Regions from separate parts of the Homo sapiens genome. Here all the other regions are linked to region 2. The links are contacts of gene promoters, found by promoter capture Hi-C in blood cells and fetal thymus (Javierre and others, 2016). All regions are on one chromosome and are shown on one strand. The core of a region is centred on a gene start or on the middle of the fragment in contact, and the rest is flanking DNA. Distances in the headings are between cores, read along the strand shown. Region 1 has its middle 10 kb from the start of LINC02175. Region 2 holds the start of IL21R (interleukin 21 receptor). Region 3 overlaps ARHGAP17 (Rho GTPase activating protein 17).

Evidence for each region. The method cuts DNA at HindIII sites, captures the fragments that hold promoters and counts their contacts. A CHiCAGO score of 5 or more calls a contact.
Region 1: a contact is called between a fragment that was not itself captured here and the fragment with the promoter of IL21R in region 2, in 1 of 17 cell types (non-activated CD4 T cells). The highest score is 6.1, in non-activated CD4 T cells.
Region 3: a fragment that was not itself captured here is called in contact with the fragment with the promoter of IL21R in region 2 in 1 of 17 cell types (M1 macrophages); the score reaches 8.1 in M1 macrophages.

Annotation. Positions count from the first base shown.
Region 1 is chr16:25,055,046-25,058,128 of GRCh38, forward strand. No RefSeq gene overlaps it. Among named protein-coding and RNA genes, the nearest start is that of LINC02175, 10 kb to the right of the region's middle. RefSeq lists a silencer at 668-797. The HindIII fragment of the contact is 8,824 bases long and covers 1-3,083 here.
Region 2 is chr16:27,400,235-27,403,423 of GRCh38, forward strand. It overlaps IL21R (interleukin 21 receptor), which reads left to right and starts at 1,940. Exons shown (of 9, transcript NM_181078.3): 1 at 1,940-2,384. RefSeq lists enhancers at 2,017-2,559, 2,452-2,571. The HindIII fragment of the contact is 2,346 bases long and covers 1,144-3,189 here.
Region 3 is chr16:24,997,832-25,000,762 of GRCh38, forward strand. All of the region lies in intron 1 of ARHGAP17 (Rho GTPase activating protein 17), which reads right to left. Among named protein-coding and RNA genes, the nearest start is that of ARHGAP17, 16 kb to the right of the region's middle. The HindIII fragment of the contact is 701 bases long and covers 1,300-2,000 here.

The DNA of each region.
Region 1 (3,083 bases), core at 445-2,944, 2.3 Mb before region 2:
TGGACCCGTGCATCTCACCACTCTCTACCACTGTGCACCACTGTGACCATGGACAGGGTGCTCCTGAGGTCAGTCCCAGATGCCCACCAGGCGCTGCGTCCTGAGCCTGCCTCTCCCTCTGGCCTCCTCTCCAGTTTCTTACTGTCCTCCGGCCTCCCTGCCTCCTTTCTGTACTGGAGGCTCAGGTGTGTTCCCTGAGTCTTTCTGCCTGCCCTTCCTCCTGTCTAGAATGCCTTTTGGACACCTGACTCTCCCATTCTCCAGGGCTCGCCACGGCCATCCCGTTCTGAGAGAGGCCTCCCCCTATCATCTTCATCCTCTCTACGAGTCACTGCCTTCATTCCTCATCATCTTGTAATTATCTGCCTCTCCTTTCTCTCCTTGTTTACCACTGTACCCCCAGTGCCTAGCACTTGGCAGACACCCACATGTTCCTTGACTACACTAGTCGTATTGAATAGTGTAAGGAATCCGGAGGTGAGAGAATAGAAGAACCTGCTCTTTATTATGCAAGAGAGTAGTTTTGTAAGTCTACCAAGTTAGGGCTTCCAGAGGGAAGCATTTTGATCAGCTTTTCAACAGAGTTGCTTAGCAGTGGGGTGAGTGCCTTCCTCAGGGGAGTGGTCACGTAGTGATATTGTTGCAATGGTTCTTGCACTGGATGCTGGGGTTGGCAAGATTAGGCTTCTTCCAACCCTTAGAACTGTGGGGTGTGTTCTCATCTGTGGGTTTCAACTGCAGATAAAACTGTTAACACTAGATGGCACTAGAGGATTCATTTGAAATCTGTTTAAGGCCAGGCCGGTGGCTCAACCCTGTAATCCCAGCACTTTGGGAGGCCGAGGCGGGTGGATCACCTGAGGTCAGGGGTTCGAGACCAGCCTGGCCAACCTGATGAAACCCCCGTCTCTACTAAAAATACAAAATTAGCGGGACCTGGTGGCTCATACCTGTAATCTCGGCTACTTGGGAGGCTAAGGCAGGAGAATCGCTTGAAACCGGGAGGTGGAGGTTGCAGTGAGCCGAGATTGTGCCATTGCACTCCAGCCTGGGCAACAAGAGCGAAACTCTGCCTCAAAAAAAAAAAAAAAAAAAAAAAAGGAATCTGTTTATGAAACTGCCACCCACAGTGAAAAAATAACCTTTATCATTGCACTTATACCCTCAACACACACTTGAAACAAAAGTTGTCTAAGTGCAATGGCTCACACCTGTAATCCCAGCATCTTGGGAGGCCAAGATGGGAGAAATCACTTGAGGTCAGCAGTTCGAGACCAGCTATAGCAAAACTTCATGTCTACAAAAAAATTAAAAATTAGAATTAGAAACAAAAGGTTCACAAATGTCTTAACACTATGTGTAATGCATCTTATTTTTTATTTTATTCTATTCCATTTCTTCTTTCTTTCTTTTTTATTTGAGCTGGAGTCTCATTCTGTGGCCCAGGCTGGAGTGCAGTGGTGCAATTTTGGCTCACTGCAACCTCCGCCTCCCGGGTTCAAGCAATTCTTGTGCCTCAGCCTCCTGAGTAGCTGGGATTACAGACGCGGACCACCATGCCCAGCTAATTTTTGTATTTTTAGTAGTTTCACCATATTGGCCAGGCTGGTCTTGTACTGCTGGCTTCAAGTGATCCGCTTGCCCCGGCCTCCCAAAGTGCTGAGATTCCAGGCATGAACCACCATCCCAGCCTCACATTAAAAAAAAAAAAAAAAAAAGCAGGTTTGCAAACTAATTGATCTTATGATATTAATTAGTCACCACTTACTGTTTGAAAAGCACTATTTTAGATAACTGAGTAAGTGTATGGTTATAAAACTGAGTATGTTTTCCTTGGACAGTCTGGGCTTGTATAGCAAATTGTGCACATTAGTGAATATTTCACGTTTCTGTGAATTGCTGCATGGAACACCTGAACATGTGTTTTGGGTGTCTATGGATGACAGATTGGGAGATGTGTTTGTACAGAATTCAGCACCTATTGTAGTCAAGGCAGAAGTAAGCCTTGGCAGTAGATATAAAGAAAAGGTATATTATCTGCTTCTAGGAGCTCAGAGACATCACACACACATTCCCTACATTTTACCTTAGCAGGGAACAAGGAAATGGGGGTATTACTCAGGGTATCATTAGGATGCTTTAGGCTGTTAACAGAAGCCTGACTCAAATTGGCTTAAAGGGTAAAAACACTTATTATCTCACAAAATATACGTTCAGAGATAGAGCAGTCCACAGGCCCAGAGCAGCTGAGCATGGCCTTCGGGATCCAGGTTCTTTTCATGACTCCTCAGTCGTCCTAAAGCTGGTTCTACTCATGATTGCAACAAGGCTTCCTGTGCTAATCAGGGTTTCAGCTCCCAGCCTTGAAACACAAAGCCTTAACTCCTTGTACTGTAGACCAGAATAGAGACAATTAAGGCTCCCATGGCATTTCCCAAGTTGTACACGTATTGTTCATTCGTTCCTGGTTTCCCCACTCTGACCTCTGTAAGGGGAGTAAGAGGACGGCACCTAATACAGAGTCAGGAGAAACACTTGGGTTAATTCATGCTGTTTGTCAAGTGTTTCTGAGTCTCCCTTCCCCTGGGCACAGGTCTTTTCATTTAGTGGAATTAACTGACTAGCTCTGGCCATGAGTTTGCAGAGTGAATAAATGGCTGCACATCTTTTGTATGAAGCATGAAGTGAGGTTATTTGCTATGTAGGGTCCTGAGAAGTGAACTAGCACTATGAGGAAAGGGAGTCAGAAGCCCACTGTGGGCAATGTAATGGGCGGTACGTGAACATAAAGATGAATGGATGGCTGCGTCTTCGCATGTGTAACGGGGCACTGAATGTGCACTTGGCCTTTCGAGGTGGATGGTTGGTTTTTGTCGAGTTCCTTGACCTGGTTCCTGATAACTTGGCAGCGGACCCTGGCCCGAACCTACTCAATCTCTACTCACCTTCCTCTTTTTTTCTCCCTTCCAGGCTTGCAGTAAGGTTGGGCTGCTGGCACGACCCTTACATCCACCACTTTGTGAGACTGTCTAAAGACAGGAAAGTCCCTGAAATCAACAGAGGTAAGTGACCATCTCCCTCCC
Region 2 (3,189 bases), core at 690-3,189:
AGGGACGATGATGATGATGATGATAACTATCTTCTAGACTCATTCTTTTTCATTTTGGGGATTTTATTTTTGAAGACAGAGTCTTGCTCTGTTGCCCAGGCTTGAGTGCAGCACTACAGTCATAGCTCACTGCAGCCTTCAGCTCCTTGGCTCAAGTGGTCCTCCCACCTCAGCCTCCAGAGTAGCTGGGACTACAGGCGTGCACCACCATGACTGTCTAATTTTTAAATTTTTTTATAGAGACAGGGTCTTGCTATGTTGCCCAGACTGGTCTTGAACTCCTAGCCTCAATCGATCCTCCCACCTCAGCCTCCCAAAATGATGGAATTATAGGTGTGCACCGCTGCACACAGCCTTCTCGAGTATTTCTGAGGTTTAAATGAGAGGGTGCATCTTTAAAGTCCTTAAAACCCTGGCACACAATGAGCTTTCAGCAAATATTAGCTCTTTTTACTGTCTCTTCTCCTGATCTTTCAACCACTACAAATTTCAGTGCATGTTATCAGAGAATTCACCCCGAAGATCAAGAGAAAGAAAAACAAAAGCTGGTGTCTTCCCAAGGTTCGTTCTCCAGAGAACACGACACACTTCGGTAGCTGGGAAGAGCTCTACAGGGCCAGGATCCCTCAAATCAACCACAGGGGAATTTGTACCAAGTTCCTCAAAAACAGCTAGAAAAAAAAAGAAAGAAAGAATAGCAAGACGCTTTCTCTTTTTTCTCTGGAGTGGTCACGAAAGTCAACAGCAAGTTGATTCCCAAAAATGAGTCAGCAGGGAGAGCTACAAATTGCATCTTGTTATCAAAACAGCATAAAATAGCCTCCCCCAACTGTGGGACATTTCATCCTGGTATGGCCCCGTTTTCACAGCCTGGTATAAGCTTAGGAATCAAACACACCCAGGTTCAAATCCCAGCTCTAATTCTTCTTGGCTTGTGTGACGTTTCACTCCTCTGGGCCTCAGTCTCTCCATCTGTAAAATGGGACTAATCTTGTCTGCCTCACACTTTGTGGGATAAAGTGAGATCATGTAGGCACCAAAGTAATTCGAGGTGGTGGTGATGGCAGTGGTAGTGGTGGTGGTGGTAGCGGTGGTGGTGGTAGCAATTCTCTTGCTCTCCTTTGGAGACTGCACTAGGCATTAAGCTTGTTACATTTTGTCTCCTGGTTTCTTGAATGTCTTCCAGAAACATCTGACCCTCTCATGGGCCTCTGGCATGTTAGCAAGATGAAAACTCTCTTGAGAATTTCTTTTCTCTATTTTCTTCTTGAATTCTCATGTGTTAATGTCTGCCCTCTTCCTCATAGCTAGGTGCCCCCATTTGACAGATGGGCAAAGTGAGGCATTCAGAGAGGTGATGTGACGTGCCCAAGGGGTCCTGCTCCCTGGAGCTCTGCAGCAGGAGACTGGATCCAAAGGAAATGGAGGCAGAGAGGCATGGGGGTCAAGCCAGAGCAGAGGGTCCCAAGCTCAGACCCTATTAGGCAGGTAAGGCTCAGGAATAAGAAACAGGCTGGTTTGCAAAGTCTGAAAAAGGGGCTTCCGTGGGACCTTGGGCAAGGTTCTGGTCCTTCTCTCTGTGCTGAGGGGCTGGAGTCGGCCACTGAGGACTCTGGGTCCACGGGTGAAACTGTGCCACATCTTCACACCTCTGGCCTCAGTTTCCATATCTGTGCAATGTGGTGGCTCCAGGAGGCACTGCCTGCCTCATGGGTTATGACTGAGAGGCCTGTGGGGATGATGTCACAGGTCCCTAAGAGGGAAGTGTCACCCCGATGGCCCCAAATGTCTTACTTGCAGGTGACCTTTGGTGACAGTGGGTGCCTGCTGTGGGGCCAGGCCCCCTCCCACCTCTTTCTCACTCCCTCCCAGGAGGAGCCCAGCTGCGGGTGGGCGGGGCTGGCGGGGAGCGGCTCACCACATCCTCCTCTTCCTCCCCACTCTGCACATGCGGCTGGGTGGCAGCCAGCGGCCTCAGACAGACCCACTGGCGTCTCTCTGCTGAGTGACCGTAAGCTCGGCGTCTGGCCCTCTGCCTGCCTCTCCCTGAGTGTGGCTGACAGCCACGCAGCTGTGTCTGTCTGTCTGCGGCCCGTGCATCCCTGCTGCGGCCGCCTGGTACCTTCCTTGCCGTCTCTTTCCTCTGTCTGCTGCTCTGTGGGACACCTGCCTGGAGGCCCAGCTGCCCGTCATCAGAGTGACAGGTCTTATGACAGCCTGATTGGTGACTCGGGCTGGGTGTGGATTCTCACCCCAGGCCTCTGCCTGCTTTCTCAGACCCTCATCTGTCACCCCCACGCTGAACCCAGCTGCCACCCCCAGAAGCCCATCAGACTGCCCCCAGCACACGGAATGGATTTCTGAGAAAGAAGCCGAAACAGAAGGTAATTCCAGCCCTGGTTTTCTGCTGGGACCAGGGTGCCTTCTCTGCCCAGGAGGGACTGTTCCCTGCCTGCTGCATCTAGTGTCACAGTGGGAGGGCTCGGAGGACTGTGCCCAAGTCACAATTGGGGACACTGAGGCAAAGAAGATTCATGCAGTGAGGCTGGGCAGAAATGAGGTTGGGGTCTCTTGTTCAGCACAGCTTAGGGGCCCAGCAGCAGGGATGTGGCTGAGACGACCCTCTATCTTGAAAACCAGCCTCCAAAATGTAGCGGGCTGGGGAAGGAAAGCCAGTTTCAAGCCAAACATAACATGTCAATCACCCGATTCTGGGCGGCTGAGTCGGGAGGTGACGGGCATGGGTGTAGAGCCTGATGGGACCCATTCTGTGTCAGTTTCTATGTCTTACCACCTTGATTCCACCCAGTCATTCAAAACAATGGCTGGTGTGCCCATTTCGCAGATGAGGCAATGAGGCTGCGAGAGGTAGAGTGATTTTCCCTCGGTGACTCAACTGGGACGTAGCAGGTCGGGCAGTCAAGCCAGGTGACCCCATGAGCTGTCGCTGCATCTTTCTCATGAAGCACGGGGAACGGGTCGGATGGTAAGAGGCCAACCCAGTTCCCTGTGCATGTGGAGGAGAGGAGGGTGGGGAGGTCAGTGGAGGCTGAGCCTTGAAGGATGGGAAAGGAAGAACATTCCTGGTGGAGGAGCCCTGGGGAGCGGGAACTTAGGACTTGCCGCAGGAATGACGTCTCTGCTCAGTGAAGGCAGAAGACCAGGTGCGGGACATTCAAAGCCAGGAGG
Region 3 (2,931 bases), core at 400-2,899, 2.4 Mb before region 2:
ATGCTGGGTGAAGGGACCTGTTGAACATTCAGGTGGAGATATCCAGTTCCCTTTTTTCTAGATGGTTCTGAAGCACAGAAAAGACATCTGGTCCAGAAACGAAGAGCCTGCTGTGAGGACCAGCAGCAAACACGGATCTGGGGGAGTTCATGCAGAAGCAGACCCTGCAGAGAAGACGGAGGCTGAGGATGGAGGCCCTGGGACACAGCGGAAGGAGAACCAGGGCAGGGGACAGGATAGGAGTCCCCAGGGAGGGCAGGGAAGAAGCCAGGAGCGAGGTGCGGGTGAAGCATGGATGAGGGACTGGCTGATGATGCAAACTGGGCCCCGGGCACAGGGACGTCAGGGACAGGAAAGTGGGAGGAGAGGGTCCTGGGAAGCCAAGACGCAGAGCGTGGATGACAGAGGAAGACGCAAAGCCCCAGAAGGAAGGGGAGGGCTGAGAAAAGCCTGACCATGAGGAGCAGCCAAGAAGAAACAGGCAGCAGATGGAGGGAGGTGAAAGGTGCATGGCACAGAGGGGAGGCTGGCAAGGCAGCGCCCAGGACAGCGGCACAGGTGGCGGGGCCTTGGACAGAGGGTGGGGTCCAGGCAGGTGGGTGGTGACGGCAACCATGACCACGGGTCAACCTGGGCCTCAGACACTGGGGAAAGGTGGCCATGTCCAGTTTTCTTAGGAAATTAGGAGGCAGGTCATCCAAGGAGAGAGGGTGGGTGTCTGGGGTAGGGTGAAGTAGGTTTCAGAAAAGTGAAAGTCTGGCAAAAGCACTCAGGAAAACGGGACAGAAAACTAAGCCAAGCGCTGGACGGCAGCATTCATTCAGCCCAGCTGAGCTTGGAGGCCATGAAATGCTGGCAGCCCCACACTGCACGACTGCAGGGTCTTTCTGGGCCACGCCCCGAATCCCAGGTATGGAAGTGAAGGACCCAAAAAGAGGAATGAATCAGGCTATTATTCCGCAGAACAGGTGAAAGAAAAAGGCCAGGTAGACAGAGCCTTGGAAGTCAGTCACCCACATGCCTGACCCCATCAGAGAAGAAAGGGGACCAAGCCAGGGCGGGAGGGACTGTGTGGGAAAGAGGAGGCTGAAAGGAGGAGAGACCGCGGGCAGAGGTGGACAAGGGACCAAGGTGAAGACCTTTGAGGTGCTTCTTGAACCACAGTGGCGAATGTCTTTCTGGACAAGAGTGCCAGTGCCCACCGCCATCACAGGACACAGCCCCATCCACACTCCCGGGACAGCAACATCTCATTGTCCCAAACTCTGCCAATTTCATCAGTGAAAAGTGGAGCCTGGAAGCTTTGCATTTCTTCAATGACTTCGAATTTTTTAAAGTGGTCTCACAGATTTCCTGGTCATCGGTATTTCATCTGAGAAGTTTCTGTCTGTGATATCTGCTCATTAGAGCGGAGTTCTTAAAATTACTAGAGAGCTTTATACATTCAGTATATTCACCTCTGTAGTGGTTGCTCTCAGTTTTTTCCAATTAGTCATCGTTTTAAATTTAACTTTGATATAATAAAACAGACAGAAGTGTAGTTATTATGTGGTTAAATCTACAGGTGTTTTATTTATTTATTTATTTATTTATTTATTTTTTAGAGATGGGGTTTCACTCTGTCACCCAGGCTGGACTGCAGGGGCACAATCATGACTCACTGCAGCTCCGGCTCCTGGGCTCTAAGGATTCTTCTATCTCAGCCTCCTGAAATAGCTGGGACTACAGGGGTGTGCCACCTCACCCAGCTAATTTTTCCAAAATTCCTTTTACAGACACGGGCCTCACTATGTTAATCAGGCTGGGCTCAAACTCCTGGCCTCAAATGACCCTCCTGCCTCGCCTCCCTAACAACTGGGATACAGGTGGGAGTCGCATGTCCCACCTACAGGCTATCTTTTATTGTTCTTTCTCCACATTTTTATGCCAAAGCATGCAGTACTTTCCACAATAAGCTATATTTTCTTGTATTTATTTTGTGGTTTTATTTTTTACATGAAAGCTTTAACCCATTTGGAATGTATTTTGGCATAGAGCAGTGAAGTGAAGGCTAACCTGGCTATTTTCCCCAGTGCTGACCTGCTGTGTCACACTGTATGTCCTCACTGTCTCATGACGCCTCCCTAGCACACACCACCTTCTTAAACACAGCAGAGCTTGCTCCTGGTGGTATCAGGAGCCGTTTCTCACGTATAGGAACACAGCAGAGTGGCTGATTGGACCAAGGTCACAGACACAGCGAGTAAACAGTACAGACAGGATCTCAAGCCCTCAGACTCAAGTCCAATACACTTTTTACTACAATGCAACTGCCCCAAAGCAGTTTTACGTTGATTAAGCCCTTATCTAAAAGTTTTGAAAACTGAATTAACTAATCGCCAAGAAAGCCAATTCTTGAGGGAAAGTAATTTGATGATCATCAAATCCCATGACAGAACACATTTCTGCTTTGTGGGGGAAAGGCTCCCATCTAGAAAAAGCATGTATTTTGGACACAGGCAGAACAACACACACAGACGCACGAGGTGCACATCTGCAAATAACATTTCTCTAGAGAGCAGCTCCCAGCATGGGAACTGTAACTAAGCATTGCTTGGACAACTGGCAGGCTTTCTTGAGCTGCCGACCATGTGGACGGCTTTTCTTGAATCTTGGGGTTTTTGTCCATGCGCTTGAGGATGTCTGTGAAGTCCATAAGATTATAGGCAAATCTGTGTGTGGATGATTTTTTCTGGCAACGGGGGGGTTATTAAAACCTCTACCTAAATCTACAGGCAGCAAGGTTTCCATTCCTAAAGACTGCCCTGAGATTCAGAGGCTACAATTCAGTCTACTGCCTTGTGACCTGCTAACCACCTCTTCTTTAGAAGTGACATTAGCATACTGCCACATACGCTCCATTAAAACTCCTCTTACCATTTCTCAACTTTC